Regions from separate parts of the Homo sapiens genome. Here region 1 is linked to region 2. Evidence: promoter capture Hi-C in human tissues and cell types (Jung and others, 2019). All regions are on one chromosome and are shown on one strand. The core of a region is centred on a gene start or on the middle of the fragment in contact, and the rest is flanking DNA. Distances in the headings are between cores, read along the strand shown. Region 1 overlaps PRDM11 (PR/SET domain 11). Region 2 holds the start of CRY2 (cryptochrome circadian regulator 2).

The links. Contacts are between HindIII fragments. The study calls those that stand out against the background at their distance.
Region 1: a contact is called between a fragment that was not itself captured here and the fragment with the promoter of CRY2 in region 2, in 1 of the 25 tissues and cell types used here (dorsolateral prefrontal cortex).

The regions. Positions count from the first base shown.
Region 1 is chr11:45,154,401-45,160,858 of GRCh38, reverse strand. The region is part of intron 1 of PRDM11 (PR/SET domain 11); the gene reads right to left. Among named protein-coding and RNA genes, the nearest start is that of PRDM11, 11 kb to the right of the region's middle. The HindIII fragment of the contact is 3,876 bases long and covers 3,263-6,458 here.
Region 2 is chr11:45,844,124-45,849,928 of GRCh38, reverse strand. CRY2 (cryptochrome circadian regulator 2) reads right to left here and starts at 2,454. Exons shown (of 12, transcript NM_021117.5): 1 at 2,224-2,454. The coding sequence starts at 2,438. RefSeq lists a silencer at 1,684-1,793 and enhancers at 1,742-2,263, 2,194-2,433, 2,794-2,843, 2,894-3,003. The HindIII fragment of the contact is 4,522 bases long and covers 1-3,183 here.

The DNA.
Region 1 (6,458 bases), core at 3,951-6,450, 690 kb after region 2:
TTTCTCTCTGGCTCTAAAATGGAGAACCAGCAATAGTGAAGGACTCACAGGGAAACATTTGGTTCTATGCAGTCTCAACAGACAGATTTTAAACATTGTACAATAAACTTTAAAAAGTGCAAAAGGTTCCCCAGACCCAGCAGTAGCTGCTCTAGATATGTGCAAGGAGGCACTAGAATAAAATCAGAATTTACCCAAATGTCAGTGGTGGGGGGATGGTTAAATGACGATCCTTTCTAAAACCTACTGTGTGGCTAGATTTCCCAGATACAATGTTAAGTGAGAAAAGCAATTTGCAGAATAATCTGTACTACATGAAACCATTTGTTTAAACACATACACACACACCCACACACTCTGCAGTGGTACGTATTCCTATAAATTATGTGTGTTGACATATAGAAAAAGATCTAGAAGGATATATACTAGAGTCATGACCATGACAGTCAACGCTCCAGAGAAATCTGGAATGTTGTGATCATCAAGAAAGACTTTAGTTTATTTGTTAATATTTGATTTTTTTTCAAAGTAAAAATGTATTTGTATATTCCTTATATAATTGAAATGTAGTAAAACAAAAATTAAAAGATCCAATGAGCTGCCTTGGGAACCAGTGGGCTACCAGTCCCTGGAGGCATGCCAACAGCTCTCTTGGGGTGGAGGGAATTAGAGGAAATTTAAACACCACAAGGTATCTAAAGGGGTGAACACCCATTCTGAACCTCGGGAGCCCCAGCAGGGAAGTCAGAGCAAAAGCCTTTACTCTCTCTACTCGCATCAAGAGTTGCTATAAGGAAGCACAGAGCATCAGACCCTGCAGAAGGGAGAGGCTGGAGTTGTGGATCTTCAATGTGACTCAAGAAGAAATGGGTTGGGCAGTCAGAGGCGCACAAGCCAACTCTTCAGAGTCTACCTTGCCCCAGCCATCTTCCCCCAGTGACTCCTGGCCCATTCTGTTTCTGCAGCCCCCAGCCCTGGCCAATTGTGACCAGCTTCAGGGATGCTTCAGGGATAAAGGCTGTGTCCCTAAGAGGATCTGACACTGGTGTCAACAGTTCAGGAAGGAAGGAGGAGAAGAAAGCAGTTATAAATGCTCACAGAGCTAACTGCCACTGACGGTGACTAGTACTAAGCCCAGGCAAAGGCCCAGGCAGGCCCATAAGCCCCGACCCCAAACATAGACTGAGCCTGTGAGCCCTGGCCAGACCCTGACAATACAGCAAGCAGAGGCCAAGGAGGCCATTACCTCCAAGACAGCTATGTGGTCACGAGGAGAGTCAGGACATGTGGGTCTAAGTCCCTGATGTCCCACAAGACCTTGACAAAGTTGCTGAACCCTCTGGGGCCTCAACTCCTTCATCCGCAAACTGGGCGAACAGTAGCTACTCCCAAGCTTGCTGCACAGATGAAATGAGACCAGGCCCACTTAGCCTCTTTGTGAACCACAGGGACTCCCACAACATGTGAGGCCCACCCACGCCTCAGACACTGGGCTCTGAGAAAAGGGGGTGGCAACAATTGAGCTCCAGAAGCAGCCAGACTGCTGCCAGGCCAGGAGCCCAGGGCAGCCAGGAAGGAGGCCACTGCTGGGCCCAGGAGGCAGCAGGCGGAGGGTTCTCCAGGATGGAAGGGTCCAGGAAGAAATGAGAGTGAGTCTAAAAGGGCAGAGGAGACTTTCTTGGCCACTGTCCTGGGCCTGGGGCCAGGGTGCTCAGGGAGGGCAGGGGAGCCACTGGCAGGTGCCAGGGAGGAGTCTGGTTTCTAACCGAAGCCCGGGGAGCAGACCCCTGGGAGCTGGGCCAGTGGGTCCTTTCCTCACCGGTAGCTGAGGGAACTGGGACAGGGCAGGCCACAGAACTAGGAAGGGGGGGCTCAAGGAGAGGGAGGGCGGAGCACAGTCCCCGGGAGAAGCCAAGACAGGCTGCGATGAGCAAAGGGGCCAGACTGTGCCCCTGGACCCGGACACGGACAACCTTGGAGGATTTGATTAGGAGGTCTTGCTGAGAAGTGGCAGAAGCCATGCACAACAGGCTCAGGGTGTCTGTCCTTAGAGAAGGGGGGGCACCGAGAAGCAAGGAGGTCTCAGCAGGCCTGCACAGTGAAAGGATCAGCTTTGGGGAAGGGTGGAGCAGAAAGACGAAGCCTGAGTTAGGCTCAGCTGTCCCAGGGCCTGCTCCCCAGCTCCCGTCAGGGAGGCCCTCGCTCTATGGCAAGTCATGAGTTCAGTGTGGGACCAACCAAGTCGGGTACAGCAGACAGGGTGAGGACTCTAATCCTGAGCCTCCACACATGACCAAGACCACTGTTAAAACTAAGGCACCTCAACAACTCCTGCCTTCCTGGCCCTGAAGCCAGAGCCTGGACAGAGAAGAATGCCTGCCCAGCCCCGTTCTGTAGGACCCCAGGCAGCTGGACTCCCTGTTGAACAGCAGCCAGACAGCCCGGCCTGCTGCTGGGGCCCAGCCTGTCTGGGAGCTGCAGGGAGGGAGGCAGGGGCTGGGCCACCCTGAACTGGGGCCCCAGAGGAGGGTGGAGGTGGGGCAGGCAGGAGAGGCGCTTCCAACAGTTCCTTCCCAGGCAGGGCCTCCGTGGGCTTGTGGCCACATGCAGGCCCAGGCACACCTTGGTCTGTTCCCAGCAGCCCTGGGACAGGGCAGGTCAGTTACTCTAGGGACAGGAGGCTGTGACAGAGTTGAAGACCAGCGACTCCCTGACACTGCACTGTCTGCTTTGAACTGGGCTGGGTTGGGAATGACTTTAACTTTTCCCTCGCTACCTCAACCAGATGTTTGCTCCTCAGGCCACAGAGGCAGGTCTCAGCCCTGGCCCATCAGAGGATCCATGCAGGAAGCCACTTCAGCCTGCTGCCCACTGCTCACCTCCTGCACAGACCCCATGCCATCAGAGACCAGGTACCCAGGGCCTGGGCAATGGCCCAACCTCAGCTCAAACTTCAGCCCTCCCTTCTGACAGCTTTCCCTGAACACGGCTCTGGACTGTACCCCAAACTGTACCCAGCACCCATTTGACAGCCCACCAGTCCACGTTCCTGCAGCTCTAGTAGGGCAGGCAGTGTGGACAAGAGAGTTCTGCCATGGCCAGCCCATGACCCCAGGTGTGACCCCACCAACCAGGCCAGCCTGGAAAGGCCATGCTGCTCACACCCGAGGGCTGCCTGCCCATCAGCCAGGACCGACTCAGGGGACAAAGAGAGGCCTGTGCATCAGCAACCTACTCCACAAGACACAATCGAGGAACAGCCTTCTGGGAGGTTGGCGGTGGAAAGGAAGCATACACCTGGATGGCCTCTTTGGTCCTCTAAGGCGTAGGTCCCCAACCCCTGGACCACGGATGGGTACTGATCCATAACCTGTTAGGAACCAGGTTGCAGAGCAGGAGACGAGTGGCAGGCGAGCTAGCAAGCATTAACGCCTGAGCTCTGCCTCCTGTCAGATCACAGGCAGCACTAGATTATCATAGGACGCGAACCCTACCGTGAACTGCGCATGCGAGGGCTCTAGGAGTGTGCTCCTTTGAGAATTGAACGAATGCCTGATGATCCGAGGTGGAACAGTTGATGATCTGAAGTGGAATAGTTTCATCCCCAAACCATCCTCCCCGACCCCGTCCATGGAAAAATTGTCCTTCATGAAATGGTCCCTTGTGCCCCAAAGGTTGGAGACCACTGCTCTAAGCCACCTACTCAGCCATGGCCACCTCAAGTCCACTGCCACCTGGACAGAGTTTCTGTGGCGCAAAGCTAACTACTTCTCTCCCCTGCTTACAAACCACCGACAGCTCCCCCGTGCCTCCAGGGCAAAGTCTCAATTCCTTCACACAGCATTCAAGGCCCTCCCGGCCTGGCCCTCACCTGCCTCTCCCCAGCCAACTCCACTGCTTCTCTAAACACCCATGACCGCTTGCCATTCCTGAACCATGGGGTCCTCCTGTTCCTGCCTTTGCACATACTGTTCCCAGTGCCTAAAATGCCCTTCCCTCTCCCTCCGCCTGGCAAACCCCCGCTCCTCCCTCAAGGTCCAGCTCATCGTCACCTCCTCTGGGAGGCCTAACCAGATCCTCCCTCTCCACCTCCAGGGCGAAATGACTTGCTCTCCTCTGCCCCATATCCATGAGCAAGCCAGGCGCATCCTACCTTCAATCCCAAGACCCAGGCAAGAGCTGCTCAAGAAATTTGAGGTGAAGTGACTTCTTTACTTTTTAAGTTTTCCAATCTGATGCCAACAGATATTTTTGTGAAATAAAATTAAAAATGATGTGGCAATGTCAAGTTGCCAAACAAGTTTCTCAAGGCTTTCTCTCAAAGTCTGCATGTCTCTCACCATACACCCATCCAGCACAGCTCAGGATGGGCAGAGGTCTGCGGACCACGGTCTCCATTGCCTGGCAGAGCCACTGTGCTCCCAGTGTTCCAAGAGGAACCTGGTGCAGGGCCCATCAAGAGTCAGGTGTGTACGTCTGGACCCCAGAGCACAAGGGGCCGCTCCATGAACATCTGCTGACCCAGACAATGGATGGGAAGGTTTGAAAATGCTGTAACATGGCCGGTCCTTATGCTAGGCATCCCCATTCTTCAAGTGGCCGCATAAAGGCACAGAGAGGGTGACCTGCCTGAGCCACAGTGGCTCATATGCTGTACTTTCTTTACACTGCCCATCATCTCAGGGGAAGGAACTTGGAATCTGTAAGTTAGCCATCCAAACTCCTGCCCAGCATGGATGGCTGACCTTATCTCCCACTGCAGTCCCAGCAAGCCAGTCCCATGCTGTGATAAAGAGCTCAGACTCTGGAATCAGACAGACCTAGGTTCATATCCTGGCTCAGCCTTTCATAGCTGTGTGACCTTAGGTGAGTCACCTCACTTCTCTGGGCCTCAATGTTACCTCTGTAAACTGCACCTAATAACACTAGCATCATGGGACAGCTATGAGGGTTGAATGGAACATGCCCGTCCACACTCATTTGGGCTCGGCTGTCGCTGATGTTTATAAAAGGCCCAGGGTCTGGCAGCCAGACACTCTGCCCTGGATCCTCCTTTTCTGCTTGCTCTTCTGGAGACCCAATATCTCCTCTCTGGGGTCAAGAGAGACTGCCGGTTTCCCTGGCTGCTAAGCTTGCTGATTTCCCTTGAGGACTTCACCTCCCTGCCCTCTGCCTCCCTCAGGCTAAGGGGCTTTTCCTTCCTCCCTCTCCACCCCTCCTTGAGGCACCCCTGCACCCCCTCTCCAAATGCAAACCCCCTCTGGCTGGTCTTTCTTTCTCTTGGAACACAGCCGGCCTAAAGAGGGGCACCCCTGGCCCCTGGGAAAATGACACTCTGTTTGGGTTGGAACAGTAAAGGGCTGTGAGGTCAGGGACAAGCCCCAGCCAACCACCTCCCGGCAACCCCCAGAGCCCGCCCTCTCTGTACCTTGGGCCATGACGGTGCTGAGTCCGCCCTGGCTGGGTCCCAGTTGGCTGCTCCCAAGAGAAGCTCACTTCCTTCTGGGGCTGAGGGTCTGGTGGGCTCCTCCCCATGCCCCTTGGCCATCGTGGAGCCTCCCAAGCCGGCCATCTCCATCCCCTGGCATCGGGCAGCCAGATCCTTTCCTGGCCCTCACCCCTTTCCCTTGGGGAAAGTGAGAGATAGTGGGAGAAGCCACTCCGGGAAAGCTGACATTGTGGGGGCGGTTCCATATTTACTTGCTCAGTGACGTCCATACCAGCCCAGCTCAGTGCCCTAGTCAAAGTGATCCTCCTGCCTGCTGGGCCCACTCTCGCCCTCAACTCTGACACAAGCCTGGGGGAAGGCGCCCACCGGCCACTACCCCCCTTTCTACCCCAAGCTCCTTCCAGCCACACTCCCTGCAGTAGCTGGACAATCTCTCTGTTTGGGAAGCAGGGTACAGAGGCTACAACAACACTCTCTGGGGTCCCCATTCTGCTCTGATTCCAGAAGGACTGGGGTGCAGAGGAAGGGGTGCTAGATTTGGGGTTAGAATGTTAGCTTGGTTACTTCCTAAACTGTATGAGCTCTAAGTCACTTCCCCTCTCTGAGCCTCAGTTTTCTGAGCTATAAAATGGGGGTTTTAAGAGCCAACCTGCCTGGGCTAGTGATCAGGGATCGGGAGAAGGTGCAGTTGGGAGGAGGAGAGTTCTGGTTGCTCTTATGGATCGGATGAGGTAGGGGAGACAGGACTGGAAGGGAAAGCTCTAGAAGGCACTGAAGGCTCCAGAGGCCTGGGGTGCCTCACTTTGCAAGCAGGGACCCCCCTACCACTAGCACCAACCCCTGATCTAAGGCTGCTGCTTGGGAGCAGGATGGGCAGCAGCTATCTGCCCCCACCCCTACTCCACTTCCCGTACCCAGTATCATTTCAGCGGAGGCTCCGGGTCTGTTTGAATGTGTCCGCAACTTCTGACCTGTGAGGTTCCTGGGATGGGGAGAAGGTCTGAAACCA
Region 2 (5,805 bases), core at 1,205-3,704:
AAAGGGGCTGGGCACAGTGGCTCATGCCCTGTAATCCCAGCAGTTTGGGAGACCAAGGTGGGCAGATCACCTGAGGTCAGGAGTTTGAGACCAGCCTAGCCAACATGGTGAAACCCTGTCTCTACTAAAAATACAAAATAATTAGCCAGGTGTGGCGATGGCCACCTGTAATCCTGGCTACTTGGGAGACTGAGGCAGGAGAATTGCTTGAACCCGGGAGGTGGAGGTTGCAGTGAGTCCAGACTGCGCCATTGTACTCTAGCCTGGGCAACAAGAACAAAACTCCGTCTCAAAAAAAAAAAAAAATAGAATTGGGGGAAAGGGGCCCAGGTATCTTTTAAAGACCCTTATGGGATTCCAATGCACAGCAGCCAAGATTGAGAACCACTGCTCTAGTCTGTCCCCTTATCTTATGTTTCTCATGGCACTTCGTTTCACTAAATTATGGTTGTTTGTTGGTAAAATGTAGGCTCCAGGAGTTCTGGAGCACAGACACATCTGCTTATTCACTGCTGTATCCCTAGCAACATCTAGAGCAGTACCTGGCAGATATTAGGCACTTATTAAGTGATCAATTAATATCTGCATTCTTACACAGCCTCTGACTTCAGGATTTGACTCAGGCATCTGAGCCACATTCCTTTTCTTCTTCACTAGATTGATAGCACGATCACAAAATGATGACCCACAAAAATCCATAAACACCTGGTTCCTAGCAAACTGGAGTTTAATCAACAGGAATTTTATTGTTGATTTTTAATCTTCCCTATCAAAAAAGAGTAGGCAGTACTATGCAATGTCCCCCAAAACCCAATAAAAGAAGAAACTCTGTGACAATGTAACAAGAAGGTAGTCGGATTCCATTTGCCTGGCTCCGACTGGTGCAGGGCAAAGTCTGAGGCTTGGCTTAATGTGCACACTAGGGATGGTCATTTGATGATGCTTGTCAAACCCAACCTCCTATCTGTAGAAAACTGGAGCAGAGACAGAGCAATAAGGCAGCCTGAAAACTGTGGGCAGGCTCTCCACAGGACTCCTTAGTTGTTCCTTCTGGGCAGGAGGGGACACTGAACAGGCCCACTGCTAGCAGCACTCACTCTCTTAGCAGGGCACACACCTTGGAGAGAAAAGAATGGTGTGCCGAGAGCCACGGTATCCTGGAAATAACCCTGTCCATCGATGCAACAAGGCCACAAGCAAACATTCCCCAGAACAATGCAAACAAACCGAGCGACTGCCACTAGGTGTTCTGAAGAGCGATGGGTACATTATGTCTCAAAACTCTTTAGTTTGAATACTGTTTACAGTGAAAATACACTAACGACCTGTTCATCTTTTTCCATGATCATGTCGACTCCATCTCCTGGGGGGTCATCAGAGGGGCCCTTGATATCATGGCTTTCCTGCTCCCTAACCTTACCACAACAGTTCATAAAAGTCTCATCTCTAATGGCTCTACTGTCCTCTAAAATCATGACAAGAGGATGACGGGGTGACACTTTGGATTCTTTTAAATTTTTCTATCGAGGTCAAAGCTCCAGAGCAGGGCTTAAAACATTTTGGAGAATCCCCTGGATTCTCTGGAGCTTTGAACATAAAGCGACTCCACCTGAAGACGCCTTTGGCTTCTTTATTTATAATATAGGGGAGAAGACCTTATTTAATGCTAAGCCAGGGTCACTTGACACCCCTAGAGGCAGGACGGTCTGGGTGCAGGGTAGCCAGGATGGGTGGTAGGGCGGATTCAAACGAGCCAGAGGCTTCGGAGTGATCTCCCCGAGCCCAGCAACGGGCTCTTGAAGAATGCGAGCAAAAACCCGTCCCGCCCTCACACTACGTTATCTCCCTTCCGCCCCTCCCTGAGTAGACCGTAAGAGCCCTAGACCAGGAGCCCCTGTTCTGCCACTCACTGGCTACAAGTCCTTGGGCAGGTCGACTTTGGGTCTCCAGGGCTCAAGGGTCTCATCTGTACAACGGGGATCATGATCTCCGTTCCACAGGCAGTTGTGAGGCTCAAAGGGGTAACAGTGCGAACGCGCTTTGTCAGAGGCTGAACCCTGGCCCACCGGCGCGTTAGGACCATGACGAATTACTTCCCCGGTCTCGGCTTCTCCCCTCTGGCCTTCCAGCCGTGGCGGGGTTGGGGGGATCGTGCTGTTCGCCGGTCACCCCAGGGTCAGGGTCCTGGCTGCGTCCCCGCCACCCAGCCCCGGGTCCCCTCACCTCCATCGGTTGATCCCGACTGAGGAGGAGGCCGCGAACCACGGGTCGAGAATGTAAACGCAGCGCACGCAGCGCGCCCCGCGCACGGCCGCCAGCAACGCCGGGTTGTCGTGGAGTCGCAGCCCTTTGCGGAACCAGTGCACCGAAGAGGCGCTGTCCGTGCCGGGCGCTGGCGCCGGGGCCACAGCTGCCGCCGTCGCCACAGTCGCCGCCATGACTGTCCAGACTGCTCCAGCCACCCCCGCTCCGCCCCGGTAGGCGACGTGGACCCCGCCCATAGCCCGCCCAGTGACCTATGACGCCGCAACTCCACCCTTAGTCCCCGCCCACAGGGCCCCAGAGCCCCTCTGCCATTGGCTGAGTGCCTTCCACCTGGCGATTGGCCCAGAGGCGCCGGAACAGGCCCGCCCCCTCACGTTCCTACCATGTGTGGGTCCGCCCGGGTGGAGCTGGCATGCGGACAAGTGACGCAGGCTGGGGCTGTCCGCAGGCTGGGGCTGTCCGCGGAGTGCCGGGAGTAGGCCAAGTCTCAAGGGACAGCGGATCTCTTACCCACGTCCTGTTCAGGGCCTGCTTCTAGAAGAAGCTGCCTGGGCTGGTAGGGGTTGCTGTGACTACAGCCAGTGACTTGCAAGACTGACAGCTGACCTTCCTATTATCACCAACATCGTCACCATCACCATCTACATCATTCTACTACAGCTGCCATTTATTAAGTGCACTTTATATGGCAAGAGACATGATCATCTCCTTACGTAGACGGTCTCATTTACTATTCTCAACTCAGCCCAGTTACATTCATTTAGCGAACCCCAGTGAAAAAGCTGCTGTTGTTTTCGTTTCACAGATGAAGAAAACGGAGGGTGCCGCAGGTTGAGTGACTTATTCAATATCATAAAGCTGCTAAGAGGATTTCACCCAGATTATTCTGATTTCGAAATTTCTGCTTTTATCCACGAAGCTATACTTCTCTTTGTGCGAAGATCCTTGGTAATTCCAAGTGGCAGAGTCTAAGGACGGGGAAGGAGTGCCCTAATATGCAGCAGTAGAGGATTTGGGAGTAAGGACTGGGAATGTGGGGGACTTGAATTGAGATAGTAATTATGCCATCAGATGAATTTATTTTCTTTTAGTCTGTTTAGTAGATCCAGTGTGTGCAAAGCACTGTACTGGATTCCGGGTAGGGTTCAGAGATGTGGAGGACACTGTCCCCATTCTTCTGGGACGCCAGGTGGAACCCTCTTGGGCTAAGACGGCTTAGTCAAGCTGCAGCTTTGGGGTTATCAGGTGGAAAACAGTCTGTTTCAACTTGACCCTAGGTTGAGCCCATGCTTGGAACCCTTCCTGGACCTGGGACAGAGTGATGAAAGCATTTAGTAATTTAGTCTGCAATTTAGTGGCATTAATTGGCACCACTCTCTAAACCAGTGTCACTGCAATCCTAGGCATTCTCTGTCATTTCCAGGGCTTTTCACGAGCTGTTCCAGCAGTCTAGATCACACTCCCTCTTCCATCTTTGTTTCTAACTCCAGTTTGCTCTGTATCATTGTTCAGTATAGATGTCACCTTCTTGCTGTCTGATCCCAACCTGAATAGTGCCCCATCTTATTCTGTGCTTCTTTTTGGTCACTTGTCTTGGCACACAATACTGAAATTTCTTGCTTAAAAGTCTTTCTGCCCCATTAGAGTATAAACTCCTGGAGAGCAGGGGCTGTGGCTTATTTACATACAGTTGTATGTCTGAAGTCTAGCTCAGGGCTTGGCACCTAACGCTCAAGGATTATTTGAGTAAAAATTGAACTAGAGTCTCATATTGGCAGGCTCTTAAAGGTTTATCCTAGTCCGCTTACCTGACCCTTTCCTTATTTTTGAATTTCCTTTCCAAATTCTTGCTGAATAAATCGATGCAATCTTTCATTACTTTTATTTTAAGGTTTTGTGTTCCCCCTCTCCTATGCCCTCTTCTCTCCACAAGGTTGGTGCTTTGCTAGGAATGAAACAGAGTGTAAGGAGGTGGTTCTCCCTTAACCTCAGAGATGGGTCCTCTTCCCTTTTTCTCCTCTAAATTCCCATAATGCTATATCTGTATTCCGTGAACCCTGTGAGGCAGGGACTGTGCTTGTCTTACTTTTCAGTGTCTTCTCAGCTGGTACTCTGGTACCTAACATATAGTAGGTGCTCAAAAAACATTTGTTGAATGATCAAAAGTCACTTCCCTCCCCTCCCCTCGCTCTCTTATTAAGCTATCATGAGAGGCAGTGTGATGTAATGGTTAAACCTGAGGCTTTGCACATTGGAGTTGCTGAGTTCAAATTCTAGTTCTGCTTTTATTCTCTGTGACCTTGGATAAGCTAGTTAACCTCTCTGTTCCTCACTTTCTTAATCTTTGCAATAGGGTGATAATAGCACTTAGGATATAGTAAGCATTTGTACTGTGTCAGCTACTGTTATTCTGAACAGCAGGACCTGTGTCTGGTTTTGTCTTCCTTGTAATGCTCAGCCCTGGGTCTTACATGTAATGTGGGCTCCATAAGTTGCTGACTACATAAAATATTTTACTTATTTTTTTAAAGTCCTTGAAATTTTGCCAATAATGAAAAAACAAGTAATCAACCTCAGTTCCCAAAACCTAACAAATCAATTATTTCTTATCTTCATGTTGCCTTCTAGACTTTGTCCACAAACATTTAAGTTTTAAAACTTTAATCAAAGCAGAGGTTCAGTGCTCCCTGGGTTGTGTTTTTTTTTTTTTTTTTGTTTGTTTTTTTTTTTTTAATTTGAGATGGAGTCTTGCTCTGTCACCCAGGCTGGAGTGCAGTGGCGTGATCTCAGCTCACTGCAACCTCTGCCTCCTGGGCTCAAGCAATTCTCGTGCATCAGCCTCCCAAGTAGCTGGGAGTATAGGTGGCAGCCACCACGCTGGGCTAATTTTTGTATTTTTAGTAGAGTCAGGGTTTCACCATATTGATCAGGCTGGTCTTGAACTCCTGACCTCAGGCAATCCACCTGCCTTGGCCTCTCAAAGTGCTGGGATTACAGGTGTGAGCCACCGACCGTGTCCAGCCTGTTCTTTTTTTTTTTTTTTTTTTTTTTGAGACAGGGTCTTGTTCTGTCACCCAAGCTGGAGTGCAGTGCTGTGACCCTAGTTCAATACATTTTCAAACTCCTGGGCTCAAGGGATCCTCCTGCCTCAGCCTCCTGAGTAGCTAGGACTACAGGCACACACTACCATGCCCAGCTAATTTAAAAAACATTTTTTTCTTGGTAAAAACAGGGGTCTTGCTATGTTGCCCAGGCTGGTCTTGAAGCAATCAACTCCTAGCCTCAATCGATCCTCCCTCTTTGGGCTCCCAAAGTGCTGGGATTATAGGCATGAGCCATTGCACCCGGCCCAGCTTTTTTAAAACTTAAAATATTAAGCATGTTGTATATTGCTGCATCATTACTTTTGTGTTTTTTTGTGGTTTGTGTTGTCAAGTTGATAAAGATGAACTATTAATACTTCATTGAATAATTGCATATTGCTTCAGTATATTAACAGTGTAACATTCAAGAATCGGGAAGTAGGGTGGGTGCGGTGGC